Regions from separate parts of the Homo sapiens genome. Here region 2 is linked to region 1. Evidence: promoter capture Hi-C in 16 types of primary human blood cells and fetal thymus (Javierre and others, 2016). All regions are on one chromosome and are shown on one strand. Each heading gives the region's core, a stretch centred on a gene start or on the middle of the fragment in contact. The rest is flanking DNA. Distances are from core to core; before and after follow the strand shown. Region 1 holds the start of PCGF6 (polycomb group ring finger 6). Region 2 overlaps SFXN2 (sideroflexin 2).

Region 1 (4,661 bases), core at 1,067-3,566:
CAATACTATAGTCGTTTTTATTTCCAGCCCTCTGGAGTCTACACCTCCTCCATGTTTTAGAAGACATTTTCTTCCTTCCATTCCTTCTTGGGTCTTGCAGACTTCAGTATCTCAAACTTGACCAGACGTTGGGACTGGAGAAGGAGAGGTGGGGTCTGGTCCAGAAGCAATGGGAATACTTAACTTGGTTCACTGTTCCCCAAGGAAACACCATGACTTGATTTCCTCATCAATTCCCTAGACAACACATTCAGCATTTTCTTTTTTTTGTTGTTGTTAGACCGGGTCTCGCTCTGGCGCCCAGGCTGGCAATGAGCTACCACCCCTGGCACACATTCAGCTATTTTATTTTATTTTATTGTATTTTAATTTTTTGAGACGGAGTCTCACTCTGTCGCCCAGGCTGGGGTGCAGTGGTGCGATCTCGGCTCACTGCAACCTTCGCCTCCCGGGTTCAAGTGATTCTCCTGCCTCAGCCTCCTGAGTAGCTGGGATTACAAGTGTGCACCACCATGCCCGGCTAATTTTCGTATTTTTAGTAGAGATGGAGTTTCACCATGTTGGTCAGGCTGGTCTCAAACTCCTGACCTCGTTACCCGCCCAACTCAGCCTCCCAAAGCATTGGGATTACAGGCATGAGCCACCTCGCTTGGCCATATTTTTAAAATTTATTTTTTTTTTGAGATGGAGTCTTGCTCTTGTTGCCCAGGCTGGAGTGCAGTGGTGTGATCTCGGCTCACCGCAACCTCCACCTCGTCTGTGTTCAAGTGATTCTCCTGCCTCAGCCTCTCGAGTAGCTGGGATTACAGGCATGCGCCACCATGCCCGGCTAATTTTGTATTTTTAGTAGAGATGGGGTTTCTCCATGTTGGTCAGGCTGGTCTCTAACTCCCAACCTCAGGCAATCCGCTTGCCTCAGCCTCCCAAAGTGCTGGGATTACAGGCGGGAGCCACTGTGCCTGGTCACATTCAGCTCTTAAATGTGACTTTGCCAGGCATTATTTGATTAGGAGCATTTGACTTCCCGAATCTTTCTTGCAGGCATCGTGACATTAGCTGGCATTATCTTAGCAAGGATAATGGTTTTTTTGTTTTTTGTTTTGTTTTGTTTTGTTTTGTTTTGTTTTGAGATGGAGTCTCACTCTGTAGCCCAGGCTGGAGTGCAGTGGCACGATCTTAGCTCACTGCAAGCTCCGCCTCCTGGGCTCAAGTGATTCTTCTGCCTTAGCCTCCCAAGTAGCTGGGATTACAGGCACGCGCCACCATGCCCAGCTAATTTTTGTATTTTTAGTAGAGACGGGGTTTCACCATGTTGGCTAGGCTGGTCTTGAACTCCTGACCTCATGATCTGCGCGCCTCGGCCTCCCAAAGTGCTGGGATTACAGGTGTGAGCCACCGCGCCCGGACTAGCAAGAATAATGTTAAGCCAACTCCAAACCTCTCTTAATAAAATTGGGCAATGGGGTGGGTTGTACCTGGGTGGGTCTGAGTTTCTGCTACAGTAGGCCCTCAATAAATGTTTGTTGGGCCCGGCGCCCTGGCTCAGGCCTGTAACCCAACACTTTGGGAGGCTGAGGCGGGTGGATCACCTGAGATCAGAAGTTTGAGACTAGCCTGGTCAACATGGTGAAACCCTGTCTCTACTGAAAATACAAAAGTTAGCTGGGCGTGGTGGCAGGCGCCAGTAGTCCCAGCTGCTTGGGAGCCTGAGGCAGAATCGCTTGGACCCGGGAGGCGGAGGTTGCAAGTGAGCGCCACTGCACTCCTGCCTGAGCGACAAGAGCGAAACTGTCTCAAAAAAAAAAAAAAAAAGCTTTTCGAATTCAATATAATGGGCTTTATGGGATGGGGTGACATGGATGATCTTTGAGTAGTGATTAGATTTTCACCTTGTATCAATACACTATATAATTCCTTAAAATAAATAAACGTACATACTTCAGAACAGGAACTTTATACTTCCTAAGGGAAATAATCTTGGATGGAGGTGATTTGCCACAGAGGAAATGCATAATTGGTACTCAAGTGGAAATGATTATTATTTGTGATGCAACGTCACATGCTACCTAGTTCAGTGCTCTGTGAATTAGGTGATGCAAACAGAATATTGTTGCTTGGAACGGTAGCAATTTTGCTGTTTTTAAAAGGCGGCGAAGAGAGCGTCCCCTTCCAAGGAGAAAATCTGGTGAGATTCCTTTAAAGTGCGGCCCGCGCGCCCCGCAGCCTGCCCCGGAGCTGCAGGGTTTGCGCCCCGCGGAGGTGAGGGCCGCTAAACCACATTTCCCGGCGAGCCCCTCAGGCTGCCGCGCCTGCGCAGTGGTGGCGTCCGAGGCCGGCCGAACTCCCGCGCTCTCCCGCCGCCTCGCCTCGCCTGGTGTCTCTCCCGACCATGGAGGGGGTCGCGGTGGTGACGGCGGGCAGCGTAGGCGCTGCCAAAACCGAGGGAGCTGCAGCCTTGCCGCCTCCGCCTCCTGTCTCCCCGCCCGCCCTCACCCCTGCACCCGCAGCGGGTGAGGAGGGACCGGCGCCTCTGTCTGAGACGGGGGCTCCCGGCTGCTCCGGCTCCCGGCCCCCTGAGCTGGAGCCGGAGCGCAGCCTGGGCCGCTTCAGAGGCCGCTTCGAGGACGAGGACGAGGAGTTGGAAGAAGAAGAGGAGCTGGAGGAGGAAGAAGAGGAGGAGGAGGAGGACATGAGTCACTTCTCGTTGAGGCTGGAGGGAGGCCGGCAGGACTCGGAGGACGAGGAGGAGGTATTTAGAGCCCCCGCGCGACCCCGCTGGGCCCAAGCGGCGTCAGGGACGTAGCTGGCCCTCGTCTGCCGGGCGCCGGCCCGATCCTAGTGCGCCGCCGCCGCGCGGAGCACTGGAGCGGACCTCCCCCGACCTCTGCCCCGGCTGCCTAGGCGTGTGGCGCCGACAGGCCTCCGGCCCGGCCTGGGTCTTTACCCGCTTATTTTGTGAAGTTCTTGCAGGTCACTTAGGCTCTGCGAGTCCAACTCATTCGTTCTGTTAATAATTATAATTATTTTGAGACAGGGTCTCCCAGGCTGGAGTGCAGTGGCGCGACCATGGCTCACTGCAGCCTCCAACTCCTGGCCTCAGGCGATCCTCCCGCCTCAGCCTCCGGAGTAGCTGGGACTACAGGCACGCGCCACCACGCCGGGCTAATTAAACATTTTTTTTTTTTTTTGTAGCGAGGAGGGCTCCCTATGTTCCCAGGCTGTTCTCGAACTCCTGGGTTCAAGAGATTCTCCCTCTCTGGCCTTCCGAAAGATTACATGCGTGAGCCACGTTGCCTGTCCTGTATAATTATTGAAGCTACTGCTTACTAGGCAGTAAAGATCCTTTTGTTTTGTTTTGTTTTGTTTTGTTTTTGAGACGGAGTCTCGCTCTGTCGCCCAGGCTGGAGTGCAGTGGCGCGATCTCGGCTCACTGCAACCTCCGCCTCCCAGGTTCAAGCGATTCTCCAGCCTCAGCCTTTAGAGTAGCTGGGACTACAAGGCGCCCGCCACCACGCCCGGCTTATTTTTTGTATTTTTAGTAGAGACGGGGTTTCACCGTGTTAGCCAGGATGGTCTCGATCTCCTGACCTCGTGATCCGCCCGCCTCGGCCTCCCAAAGTGCTGGGATTACAGGCGTGAGCCACTGCGCCCAGCGTAAAGATCCTTTTGAAACAATAATTTGGCTGGGCGCGGTGTGGCTCACGCCTATAATCCCCGCACTTTGGGAGGCCGAGGCAGGCGAAACACGAGGTCAGGAGTTCAGCCTGACCAAAGCGGTGAAACCCCTTCTCTACTGAAAATACAAAAAGTAGCGGGGCGTGGTGGCACGCGCCTGTAATCTCAGCTACTCAGGAGGCTGAGGTAGGAGAATCACTTGAATCTGGGAGGCGGAGGTTGCAGTGAGCCGAGATCTTGCCGCTGCACTCCAGTCTGGGCGACAGAGGCAGACTCCCTCTCAAAAAAAAAAAAAAAAAAACGGAAAGAAAGAAACAATAATTTATATTGTGTTATTATTGTAACTTTCAGTAGTCTTTTAATGGGTTGGAGGTGTATGTTTCCATGTTGCAATGACATTTTGAGATTATGGTTTAAGGTTTTGAAGAAGGTGGACTGAGCGCGGTGGCTCATGCTTGTAATCCTAGCACTTTGGGAGGCCTTGGCGGGTGGATCACCTGAGGCCAGGGGTTCGAGACCAGCCTGGCCAACATGGTGAAACCCCATCTCTACTAAAAATACAAAAATTAGCCAGGCGTGGTTGTGCGCGCCTGTAATCCCAGCTACTCGGGAGGCTGAGACAGGAGAATCGCTTTAATCCAGGAGGCGGAGGTTGCAGTGAACCGAGATGACATCACTGCACTCAGCTTGGGCTACAGAGTGAGACTCTGTCTCAAAAAAAAAAAAAGAATTTGTAAAAGGCAAGGACTTGTATTTTAAAACTGTTTCCGTTTATTTGCAGCGCCTGATTAATCTCTCTGAGCTGACCCCATACATCTTGTGTTCCATTTGCAAAGGTTACTTAATAGATGCAACTACCATCACAGAATGTCTTCATACCTGTAAGCATACCGATCACATTTCTGAATAATTTTTCAGTTTTTGAAATGTCTTGAAAGCATCCTGACTTCAACATTCTTTTTCAACAGTTTGTAAAAGCTGCATCG
Region 2 (4,325 bases), core at 139-2,638, 610 kb after region 1:
GCTCAAGCTGAGCTATTGGATAGGACAGTCTGGATTAGCACTTCCCACACCAAGGCCTTTTAGTAACCTTAACTGCCTCTTATTCAACATCCCACAGCAGCCAACTCAAAGAAGAGAGATGTTACAAAATGAGACTGAGATGCAGTTTGAGTGACCACTTTTTAGAATGTCCCTGAACATTATAGCCACCACATACCTTCCAGACATTTCCAAAAGAGCAGTTGTCTATAAGAGAACAGGAAATCCAAGAGGCTTGAGGAGCTGAGAAGGAAGGGGAAACATTGTATGTTCTGAAAGAACATCAGTCAGGAGTTGTTTCCAAGCTCTACTGGCTCTGGTAATGTTTCCCTTTTCCTATTTGCTTTTGGAAATAAAGCCAGGTCTCCTGTCCTAAAGAAGCTAGCTCAAAGACAGACTTTTCTGTTCAGACACCAGCTAAAATCAAATTGCATATGCTACAACATGGATGAACCTTGAAAACATTATCCTAAGGAAAGAAACCAGACACAGAGGGCCACATACTGCATTACTCCACTTACATGAAATGTTCAGAATACGCAAATCTCTAAAGACAGGAAGTGAATTGTGAGGCGCTGGCAGGTAGGGAGAATGTGGAGTGACTGCCAATGGGTATGGGGTTTCTTTTGGGGCTAAGAAAAATGTTCTGAGACCAGATGCAGTGGCTCATGTGTGTAATTCCAACACTTTGGAAGGCTGAGGGAGGAGGATCACTTGAGGCCATGAGTTCGAGACCAGCCTGGGGCAACATAGTGAGACCTCATCAAAAAAATCAAATTAGCCTGTGGTCCCAGCTACCCCAGAGGCTGAGGCAGGAGGATTACTTGAGCTCAGGAGGTTGAGGCTGCAATGAGCAGTGATTGCACTACTGCACTCCAACCAGGGTAACAGAGTGAGATCCTGTCTCAAAATAATTCTGGAATTAGTGGTGATGCTTGTACAACTTTGTGACTACATTAAAAACCACTGAATTGTACACTTTAAAAGGACTAAGTTTATGGTATGTGAGTTATATTTTAACTTTTTTAAACGGGGAGAAAAATCAAGTTGCAGTGAATTCCTTGGCCTCGGGGAGGAGGCCCTTTCCCCTTAGAGCAGTGCTCCTCCACGTATGGTGCCAAGACCAACAGAATCAGCATCACCGGGCAATGACTAGAAATGCACGTTCTCAGGCTCCAGCCCAGAGTGACAGAATCTGGCAATGGATCCTGCAATCTGTGCTTTAACAAGCCTGCCAGCTAATTCTGATGTGTTTTCTTTTTTTTTTTTGAGACGGAGTCGCCCAGGTTGGAGTGCAGTGGCGCAATCTTGGCTCACCACAACCTCCACCTCCCAGGTTCAAGTGATTCTCCAGTCTCAGCCCCCCGAGTAGCTGGGATTACAGGTGTATGCCACCACACCCAGCAAATTTTTTGTATTTTTAGTAGAGATCGGGTTTCACCATGTTGATCAGGCTGGTCTCGAACTCCTGACCTCAGGTGATCCACCTGCCTCGGCCTCCCAAAGTGTGGGGATTACAGGCATGAGCCACTGCGCCCGGTTGATGCATGTGCTTAAGAACCACTGCTCCAGGGCAGGGGAAACTTTTTGTGTCAAGGATCAGACAGTAAATATTTTAGGCTTTGTATGCCACATAGGTAGGGTCTCTGTCATTCCTGTTGTTCCCTTTTACAACTCTTTAAAAATGTAAAAACATTCTTAGCTTCCAATTGCACAAAAACAGGTGGCAGGTGGATTTGGCCCCTTGAGCCATAGCTTGCCAACTCTTGCTCTAGGGCAACACAGCTCCCATTCTGGGAGATCTGGAGCTTCCTGTGGAGACAGGTGGATTTCCCCTTTAATGAGGGAAATAAACAACAGCCTCCAGGCATCAGACAAGTTCCCCTTATATAGTAGTTGTGATACCTTCTGACATGCCAAGGCCAAAGTAAGGCCAGATCCTGCTTTCCATTCAGGCTTCATTAACTTAGTTTACAGTTTGTGTGTATGTGTGCCTGTGTGCTCTTTCAACAAATTTATTCAATTCACAGTGATATCTGTTGGACAGAGTCAGCAATCCTACCAGACAAAACTCATACACACATTGATTCCAGATGAGAAACAACAGTCCCCCAAGGAGCTTGAGAAATCACCTAGGGCAGCCAAGCTGGGGAAGGGAAGTGGCTGTGCATTGCTGTGTGTCCTTTAAGGCTCTTTGGTCCTGGTTGATTTCCTCTTAGAAGGTTCCAAATAAAACTTCCCTTTCCTATTCAGTACACACCAGTCTTTCTTTGGTGTTTAACCTAATGGGCTGAGGAAGGGAGGCAGCCAGGAAATTATACCCATTAAAGTGTGTGGTTAATGCCTATATATATCATTTTTACTCACAGTTAGTGGACTTATCTTTTAAAACAGAGGTATGTGGCAGTGGGGTAAGAGAACTTCCCTTATTATAGAGAAGATTCCAAGAATAGGTTCAGACATGATTTGAAGAACCATGTAACTCTGCTGCCTTGCACGGTCCCCTTTTTAGCACTAATAACTCCTAAGTGTCTGATAATTTCAAGGTTAGCAGCACTCCCAAAGAAGCTGTCCGGGCTGGGTGTGGTGGCTCATGCCTGTAATCCCAGCAATTTCAGAGGCTGAGGCGGGCGGATCACCTGAGGTCAGGAGTTCGAGACCAGTCTGGCCAGCATGGTGAAACCCCGTCTCCACTAAAATACAAAAATTAGCCAGGCGTGGTGGCAGGTGCCCTGTAATCCCAGCTACTTGAGAGGCTGAGGCAGGAGAATCGCTTGAATCCAGGAGGCAGAGTTTGCAGTGAGCCGAGATCGCGCCACTGCATTCCAGCCTGGGCGACAGAGCAAGACTCCATCTTGAAAAAAAAAAAAAAGAAGCTGCCTGACCAGGGGGCAACGAGGAGGAGGATGTGGAAGGGTGATGAGCCCCAAGGGGACAGAGTCCTTTCCCCCTTCTTTTTCCTGAGTTCAGCTAGAATTACATGGGTAAAAGTTTCCATTGCTTGGGAGAGGAGGAAGCGAAGAAGAAAGAGGTATAGAAGCTTCCTTTTGATCCAAGGTCTTTTCCTCAACCCTGGCTGGAACCAGAATCCTAAAGGTTTCCTAACTTTTCCAAATGATTTGCTTGGATGTCTCCTCCCTGAGAGGGCCTCAGCTTCTGGTCTCCAGGGGACAGGGGTTGAGGAAGCAGCTAGAAGACATTGGCCTTTGCTACCCTTTTTCACTTTTTTCCCCTGAGGTCCAATCAACCAGTACCAGGGTGTAAGTATGAGGCATTCATTGTCCCACCCCCCAATCTACCCTGGCCTTCAGGCCTTGTTGGCAAAGGGGAAGGAGGACACAAGTGTGCACGTAGCTAAGGAGGAGCTGGTGAATATGGGAATAGACTGGTCCTTGCTGAAGTGGGGCATTTAGAGACCCTTATTGAAGTAGACATAAGGCTCAAGTTCTCCATACTTGGCCTTGATAGTGTCTTGGAGCTTCGGTTCCAGATAGGAAACTGGCAATTCACTGAAAAGAGAGAAGTGGATTATGAGCATGCCACCAGGAACAAGCAGTAAGTTACCCTCAGATGAATATCACCTCCAAGAAGCCCTCCTGATTTTTCCATCTAGGATTATTATTGGCCTCTGTATACCACAATGTTGCTTTACCATTACGCAGGCCTGACTTCATTCTCCTTGGGCTATGGTTCTTCGTTTCAACTTCCATCTTCTCCACAAGATTACAAACACAGTGCTTGGGACACAAGAGATGTCTAGCAGATGACCATGGAAGTAGTATTGAACTAGAGTACTGAGGAAGGGGAGACTGGAATTGTCTGGGTATATATTCAAGCTACACTTGTCTCCTGGGGTCAGTCACCCTCCACCCCCTAGTCTGATGTATCCCTTCCCTTTTCCATCATCCCTTCTCCCTGCTTCCTCCTTCTTGGACACACAAAGGAAATAGAGGGGTTTCGGTTGTCAGCCCTCTGCCTGTCCCTTTATTTATTTATTTATTTATTTACTTATTTATTGAGATGGAGTTTCACTCTTGTTGCCCAGGCTGGAGTGCAGTGGTGCAATCTCGGCTCACCGCAACCTCCACTTCCCAGGTTCAAGCAATTCTCCTGCTTCAGCTTCCCAAGTAGCTGGGATTACAGGCATGCACCACCACACCCAGATAATTTTGTATTTTTAGTAGAGACGGGGTTTCTCCATGTTGGTCAGGCTGGTCTTGAACTCTCGACCTCAGGTGATCTGCCCACCTCGGCCTCCCAAAGTGCTGGGGTTACAGGCGTGAGCCACCACGACCAGCCCCCTTATT

Evidence for each region. Contacts are between HindIII fragments. The CHiCAGO score rates a contact against its expected background, and 5 or more counts as called.
Region 2: a contact is called between a fragment that was not itself captured here and the fragment with the promoter of PCGF6 in region 1, in 1 of 17 cell types (M0 macrophages). The highest score is 5.1, in M0 macrophages.

The regions. Positions count from the first base shown.
Region 1 is chr10:103,348,795-103,353,455 of GRCh38, reverse strand. It overlaps PCGF6 (polycomb group ring finger 6), which reads left to right and starts at 2,316. Exons shown (of 10, transcript NM_001011663.2): 1 at 2,316-2,749; 2 at 4,457-4,556; 3 at 4,644-4,661. The coding sequence starts at 2,390. RefSeq lists a silencer at 2,188-2,417 and an enhancer at 2,583-3,088. The HindIII fragment of the contact is 2,980 bases long and covers 1,816-4,661 here.
Region 2 is chr10:102,736,865-102,741,189 of GRCh38, reverse strand. SFXN2 (sideroflexin 2) reads right to left here. Exons shown (of 12, transcript NM_178858.6): 12 at 1-3,527. The coding sequence ends at 3,428. Among named protein-coding and RNA genes, the nearest start is that of WBP1L, 4.9 kb to the left of the region's middle. The HindIII fragment of the contact is 3,345 bases long and covers 1-3,060 here.